Regions from separate parts of the Homo sapiens genome. Here all the other regions are linked to region 3. The links are contacts of gene promoters, found by promoter capture Hi-C in blood cells and fetal thymus (Javierre and others, 2016). All regions are on one chromosome and are shown on one strand. The core of a region is centred on a gene start or on the middle of the fragment in contact, and the rest is flanking DNA. Distances in the headings are between cores, read along the strand shown.

The links. Contacts are between HindIII fragments. The CHiCAGO score rates a contact against its expected background, and 5 or more counts as called.
Region 1: a contact is called between a fragment that was not itself captured here and the fragment with the promoter of RAB11A in region 3, in 5 of 17 cell types (total B cells, naive B cells, megakaryocytes and 2 more). The highest score is 11.4, in total B cells.
Region 2: a contact is called between a fragment that was not itself captured here and the fragment with the promoter of RAB11A in region 3, in 5 of 17 cell types (megakaryocytes, total CD8 T cells, naive B cells and 2 more). The highest score is 9.4, in megakaryocytes.

Annotation. Positions count from the first base shown.
Region 1 is chr15:65,707,434-65,710,133 of GRCh38, forward strand. All of the region lies in intron 14 of DENND4A (DENN domain containing 4A), which reads right to left. Among named protein-coding and RNA genes, the nearest start is that of MIR4511, 11 kb to the right of the region's middle. The HindIII fragment of the contact is 5,576 bases long and covers 1-2,700 here.
Region 2 is chr15:65,723,708-65,726,407 of GRCh38, forward strand. All of the region lies in intron 11 of DENND4A (DENN domain containing 4A), which reads right to left. Among named protein-coding and RNA genes, the nearest start is that of MIR4511, 5.7 kb to the left of the region's middle. The HindIII fragment of the contact is 737 bases long and covers 909-1,645 here.
Region 3 is chr15:65,868,146-65,871,079 of GRCh38, forward strand. It overlaps RAB11A (RAB11A, member RAS oncogene family), which reads left to right and starts at 1,346. Exons shown (of 5, transcript NM_004663.5): 1 at 1,346-1,480. The coding sequence starts at 1,441. It overlaps TRQ-CTG1-4 (tRNA-Gln (anticodon CTG) 1-4), which reads right to left and starts at 988; the gene lies at 917-988. RefSeq lists an enhancer at 1,160-1,219. The HindIII fragment of the contact is 828 bases long and covers 1,196-2,023 here.

The DNA.
Region 1 (2,700 bases), core at 62-2,561, 160 kb before region 3:
GATGAGTTTTAAAAATTTTCTAACACTTAAAGGAACCAATACATTCAAAAATCTTCTTATATAAATTATTGATTATAATTTCACAGCATTATATGCTATACTCTCTTGGATTAAATAATGTTTTTAATGGTATATCCATACAGTGAACTAGACAAAAATTAGGACACGATTCAGAATTATAATAATGAGAAAAACATTTACAAAATAACAATAAATGAGAAAAGAATCAGACTACTAAATCGTATACATATTATGATTTTTTTTTTTTTTTGAGACAGAGTCTTGCTCTGTCACCTAGGCTGGAGTGCATGGTGCAATTTTGGCTCACCAGCACCACCGCCTCCCAGGTTCAAGCAATTCTCATGCCAAAGCCTCCCAAGTAGCTGGGACTACAAGTGCGTGCCACCACACCCAGCTAATTTTTATATTTTTAGTAGTGACAGGGTTTTACCATGTTGGCCAGGCTGGTCAGGAGCTCCTGACCTTAGGTGATCCGCCTGCCTTGGCCTCCCAAAGTGCTGGGATTACAGGCATGAGCCACAGTACCCAGCCTATATATTATGATTCTTAATGTTTTTTTTGAGACAGGGTCTTGCTCTGTTGCCCAGGCTAAAATGCCATGATGCAATCACAGCTTGCTGCAACCTCAAACTCCTAGGCTCAAGTGATCCTCCTGCCTTAGTCTCTCAAGTAGCTGGGACTACAGGCACATGCCACCACACCCAGCTAATTTTTCTTTCTTTCTTTTTTTTTGGTAGAGATGGGGTCTTGCTATGTTGCCCAGACTGGTCTGGAACTCCTGGCCTCAAAGCAATCCTTCTGCCTCAGCCTCCCAAAAATGTTGAGATTACAGGAATGAGCCACCATGCTCAGCAAATGTTTATTTATTTAATAGTTCTCACTCTTTTTTTTAGCAGCTTCTCCCTCTCCATATTGGTGCCTACTTTCCATTCTCTAGCCATATTGTTCTCATAGAAAAGTGTGGGGTCCAGGACAACTGCTCTAGTTTTCGGTAAAGTCTATACAAATATTAAAATTTTGCACTGTAGACTCAATAGCTTGGTAAAAGATACTTCCTTCTACTTATATACCAATAAAATCTCATTTTAACATTATAAAAATAGCCGTGCAATAAATCCTACATTTATCAGTTGGACATCTCTGTCTTTTGGAAAGCATGGTGACATCTGTCTCTATCGAGAGAAAAAGAAATCCAACACCCACAGCAGGATAAAATTAAAATAATTTTCATATTCTCTTCATATTTTCCCACAAGACATTAATATGCTCAGAAAACACTGGAAAGGGATTCTTGGGAAACCAAGAAAAAATCTTACCAGACTATTTGTTACACAAAACTGCCTTTAGTTAAGCACCATCCCACAGGAACAGATTGTAAGGATTTAAAATATAATCATATGAAGAACAAGAACACATGGTTCTTAAATTAGTCATAAATGAAACTCACATAATTCTCATATATTGTTTTTCTTATTTCTATTCAGTATTACCCGCTCCAGCTTTTTAAAGTCGGTCAAGTGTTTTGTTTGGATATGCTAAGATCAAAAGAGTTAATATACCATGTGAGAATAAGTGAATAACAGTATCACACGTCTAATTTTTGTTCAATAGTAGTCATGAACCATATGAGACAGTTAACGTATATTTAATGTTATTTATTTTCTATAGCTAAACTGCCAGAGGTAAGAGGATTTGTTCACTTAAAAACTTAAGCTCAAAGTTACTCAACTAAGGAATAACCCTCACAAAAATTATTCTTTTTAAAGTGTTACTGATATTCAGAAAACATATGCAGATGAATAGTAAGCACTGATTTTTTGTGAGTCACTTACTATGGTATCAAAACATGAAAGGTAGTAACAGCATTGTATAATTATTTACATTTCAGAGAGTTCTGGCTAATAACACCACCAGGGATACAATTAACCTCTGCTCTAACTACATATGAACTTTATTAAGATACATTTTGAGCCGGGCACGGCGGCTCATGCCTGTAATCCCAGCACTTTGGGAGGTCGAGATGGGCGGATCACCTGAGGTCGGGAGTTTGAGACCAACCTGACCAACATGGAGAAACTAAAAACACAAAATTAGCCAGGTGTGGTGGCACACGCCTGTAATCCCAGCTACTCGGGAAGCTAAGGCAGGAGAACTGCTTGAACCCAGGAGACGGAGGTTGCGGTGAGCCAAGATCATGCCATTGCACTCCAGCCTGGGCAACAAGAGCAAAAACTCCATCTCAAAAAAAAAAAAAAAAAAAAAAAAATATATATATATATATATATATAATCTCGTGACACTTTATTTTCTCTAATAAGTCTCTTGAATTATAACAAAGCAAATACAAGTAATTATGTTTTAATGCATTAATTTTCAGTTTTGATTTTCTGAGTAGTCATTAAAATCTTTAAGTATAATGTTAATTCATATATATAAGTGATCTTTTGTTGGATCTAGATTTTGAATAGATAAATAACATTTTAGGAAAATAGTCTACCTAGAAACAATGATTATACATTTAATAGAATTTTCTTTTTCGAGACTTCTCAGAATTCATAATCTTTAAGCAATGATTCCAGTCACCTTCTGCATGGACTACCATCACATAAACAACAGGTGGCCTACAGAAAATCCTAGACAACATAATGTATTAACCATGAGTACTAAGATATGCTCCTT
Region 2 (2,700 bases), core at 27-2,526, 140 kb before region 3:
CAGTAAGGGATCGATAACAATAATTTATAATAAAATAGAATTATAACAATATACTTTAATAAACGTTATGTGAACGTGGGCTCTCTCTCTCAAAATAACTTATTGTACTGTACTCATGTACTTTCAGACTATAGTTGGCCACAGATAACTGAAACCATGGAAAACCAGACTGTGGGTAAAGGAGGAACTATTGTATCTTTGTTTCTGGGACAGGCTCCTATAATCTCCTTTATTATAGCAATTACAACACAGTTGGTCTCTAAACCATACATGGGGTAGGAGTAGAAAAGAGCATGGTGATAAAGCATTGCAAAGCATTTGGACTTAAAGATAGCTTTAATGACTCCACTTTAAAAAAAAAAACCAGAGAGACAACGTCTCACTCTGTCACCAAGGGTGGAGTGCAGTGGCATGATCACGGCTCACTGCAGTCTTAACTCCCAGGCTCAAGTGGTCCTCCCAAGCAGGCCTCAGCCTCCCAAGCAGCTGAGACTACAGGCGCGCACCCCTACAGCCTGCTAATTTTTATTTTGTAGAGATGAGGTCTTGCTTCGTTGCCCAGGCTGGTCTTGAACTCCACATCTTAAGGAATCCTCCTGGCCTCTGCCTCTCAAAGTGTTAGGATTACAGGCAAAAGGCACTGTGACCAGCTGACTCTACTTTTTTTTGAATCGTTTTTTTTTTTTTTTATTTCAAAAGCAATGAATATTCATTTTAGAAAACTTGAAAAATGTATAGAAAAAGAAAAGAAAAGTAAAACACTCATATTTTAACCACCACAGAACAACATAGCACAGGTGTGTAGTGGAACTTGCTGAACCTTTTTATATTCCCTAAACTTCCTACAGAACAAAAAAGGGCAAATATCACTTTGAAAAGTAAACAAAGAAAAAAGAGTGGGATAAGAAAGCTTAAGCTGAACAAAAATGACTGTCTTGGAATTTGTCCCCTCTATCTTTCCACAAATGAGAATAAAAATAAAGATAGGGCAAAGTCAAACTGCAGATGTCCTGCTGTGAAGGTGTGATTACATTTACAATGTGACCAACAGGATCCTGTGTTATAGTAAGAACGCAACATAGAAACACTTTTTAAAATTATTTTCTTGATGAAACTCAGTAACACAGCTTTCCCACTGTGTCTTACCATTCACTGCATAGTGCCTGTCTTGCTAGACTTAATTATGAGTGTCTTAAGAGAAAGAAGAATATGTGGTTTGCTATTTTATTCCCAGTGCCTAGCAAAAAAAGGGCACTCGGGATATGTTTGTGGCGTAAATGAATGAACAACATCTTGGTATCATCTGATCACATCTAATTACTGTTACTTACTGCTATAATTTCTGCCTCTTTCCTTTGATATCTTCCCTCTAAAACTTGGCTGGGTAAGGGAATTTTTTGAAGTACTTGAGTTTGGTCTATGATCATCTTCTTATAAAAAAGATCATCTTATGAGTAAATGTATATTTACTCATGATGACTTCCACTTACAAGATTACTACATTATTTTATGACATACACATATTATATAGTTACCCAATAATTAGTGGTAGAAGCATTAGTTTTGGAGTCAAACAGTAATGGCTTTAAAATGCAGTTCTGACAACATAAGCTATATGCCCTTTGATAAATCGCTTAAAAATCTAAGCTTTGGTTTCCTTGTCAGAAGGGTTAATAAGAACTACCTCGGCTGGGCGCGGTGGCTCACGCCTGTAATCCCAGCACTTTGGGAGGCCGAGGCGGGCAGATCATGAGGTCAGGAGATGGAGACCATCCTGGCTAATGCGGTGAAACCCCGTCTCTACTAAAAAATTCAAAAAATTAGCCAGGTATGGTGGCGGGCACCTGTGGTCCCAGCTACTCGGGAGGCTGAGGCAGGAGAATGGCAAGAACCTGGGAGGTGGAGCTTGCAGTGAGCTGAGATCACGCCACCACACTCCAGCCTGGGCAACAGAGTGAGACTCTGTCTCAAAAAATAAAAATAAAAAAAATAAAAAAAAGAACCACCTCACAAAGTATGGAGAATAACATGAGATAACTTAGGCTACACATGTAGCTTTACACTTGGTACATACATATTAATTTCTTTCCCTTTCTTCAGAAATTTCTTCATATTTAAAAATAGTCTGTATCATATATACTTAAGACAGGGAAGGGGAAAAGAAACCAAAAATTCCATACTTGGGATTTGTTTTTCTTTCAAACTTCAGGCTGGGGCTTCAGAAATTCTAATTGAAGGAAAGTAGAAAGCTGTCAGTTCGCTAGTCTAGTCCTCCACCGGTTTGGGAGGGTGGTAATGGCAAGAATTCATGAGCACAAACAACTTATCTTTCTTTGATTCTTTAACTCATTAGTGATCAAAGCAGAAAGAAAAGAGCTCAGACCTCAGCAACTTCAAGAAAGAAAGAAAAAATAGTAAGTAGGAAGACAAAATTCTTTTTCTAATTTTTAAATTTTTTGTATAAATGGGGTCTCTTCTGGCCTCAAGTGATCCTCCTGCCTCAGCCTCCCAAAGTGTGGAGATTACAGGTATGAGTCAAGACACCTAGCTGAGAAAATTCTTTTAACAAATTAAGAGACATTGTAAGGTGGAAAATACAATTTATTACCATAATAAACACAGTATACACTCTTACCACTGTTAATTTCAATTAAAAAATATTACATCACGTAACATTAACCTGGCAAGGAAAAGTTGTAT
Region 3 (2,934 bases), core at 96-2,595:
ACCTTGGCCTCCCAAAGTGCTGGAATTAAGGCCTGAGCCACCGTGCCCAGCCCATTTTCTACTTTTAAGGACCTTATGACAACACTGGGCCCACCCAACTAATCCAGGATAATATCCCTAATTTAATGTCAGCTGATAAGCAACCTTAATTTCATCTGTAACCTCAATTCCCCTTTGCCATGTAACCTAACCTATTCAGTCTCCAGGAATTGGGAAGTGGACATCATTGGCAGGGGGCATTATTCTGCTTGTTATAGGCATACTTGCCCACAAGTCTAAATCGAGAGTTTGCATATAGGAGGTAGGAGGTGTGACAATAATTGGATAAAGGCTTTTCTGGAATGACAAAATTCTCTTCAAATACAGGGAGGCCCTGCGACATGATATCTGGCAAATCACTTGAGTCTTAGTATCCAAACTTCCGCTAAAATGGAAATTACCATCCTTTGCTTGGCATGTTAAATGAAATACTTATGTAAACGGACTTAGATTAGAGGCCTACAAATAGGACTCAAGTTCTTGATGAATCTTGATGAGGAGGGTGGGCGAAGTACTCTAAATGAAAATGAGATAGATTGCGAGATTTCCGGAGAGGAGTGAGTGACAAGCGCCTACCCGTGCATGAAGCTGGAGGTAGAAAATTCCAGCAAAAGGAATTTTCAAGTTTCACTGAAGCTTTTGAATCAAGGCTTGAAAGCCCAGGGTTAAAAAAAAGGCAGTGAAGAAGCTCATTAAGACAACCCCCCGCCAGGTAGCAGATAGCACCTGAAATGCAGTGGGAAATTTGTGAGGTCTTCATAGGCAAGGATTAAATTTTACATCTCCATCTTAAGATGTGTCATAGTTGTTCAATTACTTAGTGACCAAAAAAGTGAATTAAAGATGTTGTCAAGATTAAAAAAACAAAAACCAATGCAGGTTCCACCGAGATTTGAACTCGGATCGCTGGATTCAGAGTCCAGAGTGCTAACCATTACACCATGGAACCGCCACGCATGTGTAGCTGCCTTCGGCTGTCTAATCCTCAGAGAACCCCGCCCCCATCCACAAACCCACCACTCACAGGCGGTCCCGCCTGGTTCCAGCGAGCCGCTTCCGGCACGGTAGCTCGAGAAATGAGCAAGCGGCCACTAAGACTATGGTAGCTAGGAGTTCCAGGACTCAGTTTCCCCTTTGAGCCTCCTTTAGCGACTAAAGCTTGAAGCCCCACGCATCTCGACTCTCGCGCACACCGCCCTTGTTGGGCTCAGGGGCGGGGCGCCGCCCCCGGAAGTACTTCCCCTTAAAGGCTGGGGCCTGCCGGAAATGGCGCAGCGGCAGGGAGGGGCTCTTCACCCAGTCCGGCAGTTGAAGCTCGGCGCTCGGGTTACCCCTGCAGCGACGCCCCCTGGTCCCACAGATACCACTGCTGCTCCCGCCCTTTCGCTCCTCGGCCGCGCAATGGGCACCCGCGACGACGAGTACGACTACCTCTTTAAAGGTGAGGCCATGGGCTCTCGCACTCTACACAGTCCTCGTTCGGGGACCCGGGCCACTCCCGGTGGACCCTCGTGCCGGCCACCCCTGCACTGATATAGGCCTCCCTCAGCCCTTCCTTTTTGTGCGGTTCCGTCTCCTACCCAGCTCAGCCTCTTCTCCCCCGCTCAGACAGGGGTCCCCATCACATGCCGCTCTCTGAGCGACCTCTCCATAGGCCTTCGCTGGCCTCAGAGCCCCTCCCTGCGTGTCCTTCCCCTGGCGGACTGCCTTCTCCCACATCGTCGAATTCCTTTCCCCGGGTTCTACGGCCCCGCCGCTCCTCCCACCATCTCTCTTTTCGGGTGTAGCGCCCCCTCCCCCTCGGCGTACACCCTTCCCAGCTCGCGTCCTCTCCCGAAGCCCCTCTGACGGGTTCTTCGCTTCCCTCTTGGCCTTGCCTTCGGTGCAGACTCCCATTACAGGTCTTTTTCTTATCTGCCCTCTTTCCCCCCTCGAGCGAGCGTCTCTTCTGTATCTCCCCTCCACTTGGACGGCCGCCCCTCTAAGCTTCTCCCATCCCGGGTCCAGGACCCCGTAAAATCTGAGCGGGCCAAGGGCCTCCGCCCCCACCCTCCGCCCCGCGGTTCTCGCGGTCCTTAACCTTCTCTGACCGCTCCCTCTCCCACTCCCCATTTGGCAACTCTCTCTACCTTCCCTCCCCAAATCGTGTTTAGAGCTCCCTTGTCTCCGTTGCGACCTGGGTGGTGGGAGGGAGGGTAAGAGGGATCGCCCATCACCCACTCGCGCACTTGTCGCAGTGACCCGGCAGGCTGACATTACTTCCCACCTAGCCTTTTCTTTTCTTGCCCTCCCTACTCAGTGGCACCCAACCCGGGATAACTCTTTACTCGGTTCGCGAGATGAGGTTGCGGATGGGTGGTGGCTGTTATCCTTGCCAGACCTGAAGGCCTGGTTCCTGAGCAGGAAAGGTTGTGCGCTGCACAAATACTAGCTTGCTTTATCTCTATGAACTGGTTGCTTCCTGCTGCAACGCTGGGAGGATCCAACAGGAAGGGAAGAGCCCTAGTTAGCCACATACCTTTCCCAAAAGGTTGGGGGTGGGAGGAAGTTGTGTGCTCTTTTGGTTACATTAAATATTTATTATAAGATACGGAAACATGTAGTGCCCTTGGACAGAACATATTGGAGGGTCAGGGTTGGTTAGAAAGAATTGCTTATTGGTTGAGTCCGGAAGGAATCCGGTTTTTTTTTTTAATCAACGAAGATAAAGGGTACATTTTTCAATGAGAAGAGAGTACAGTAGATGCTTTTTTTGTTCAGTGAATGCACTCTCACTCTGATGCTCTTTCTCTGCTCCTGAATTGGGAAGGTAGCCATCAGTAGTGTGCCGAACAAAGATCATTACCACTGAGGAAGAAGCCATTGCTATTAAAGCTTTACTGTGGAGGGTGGAGT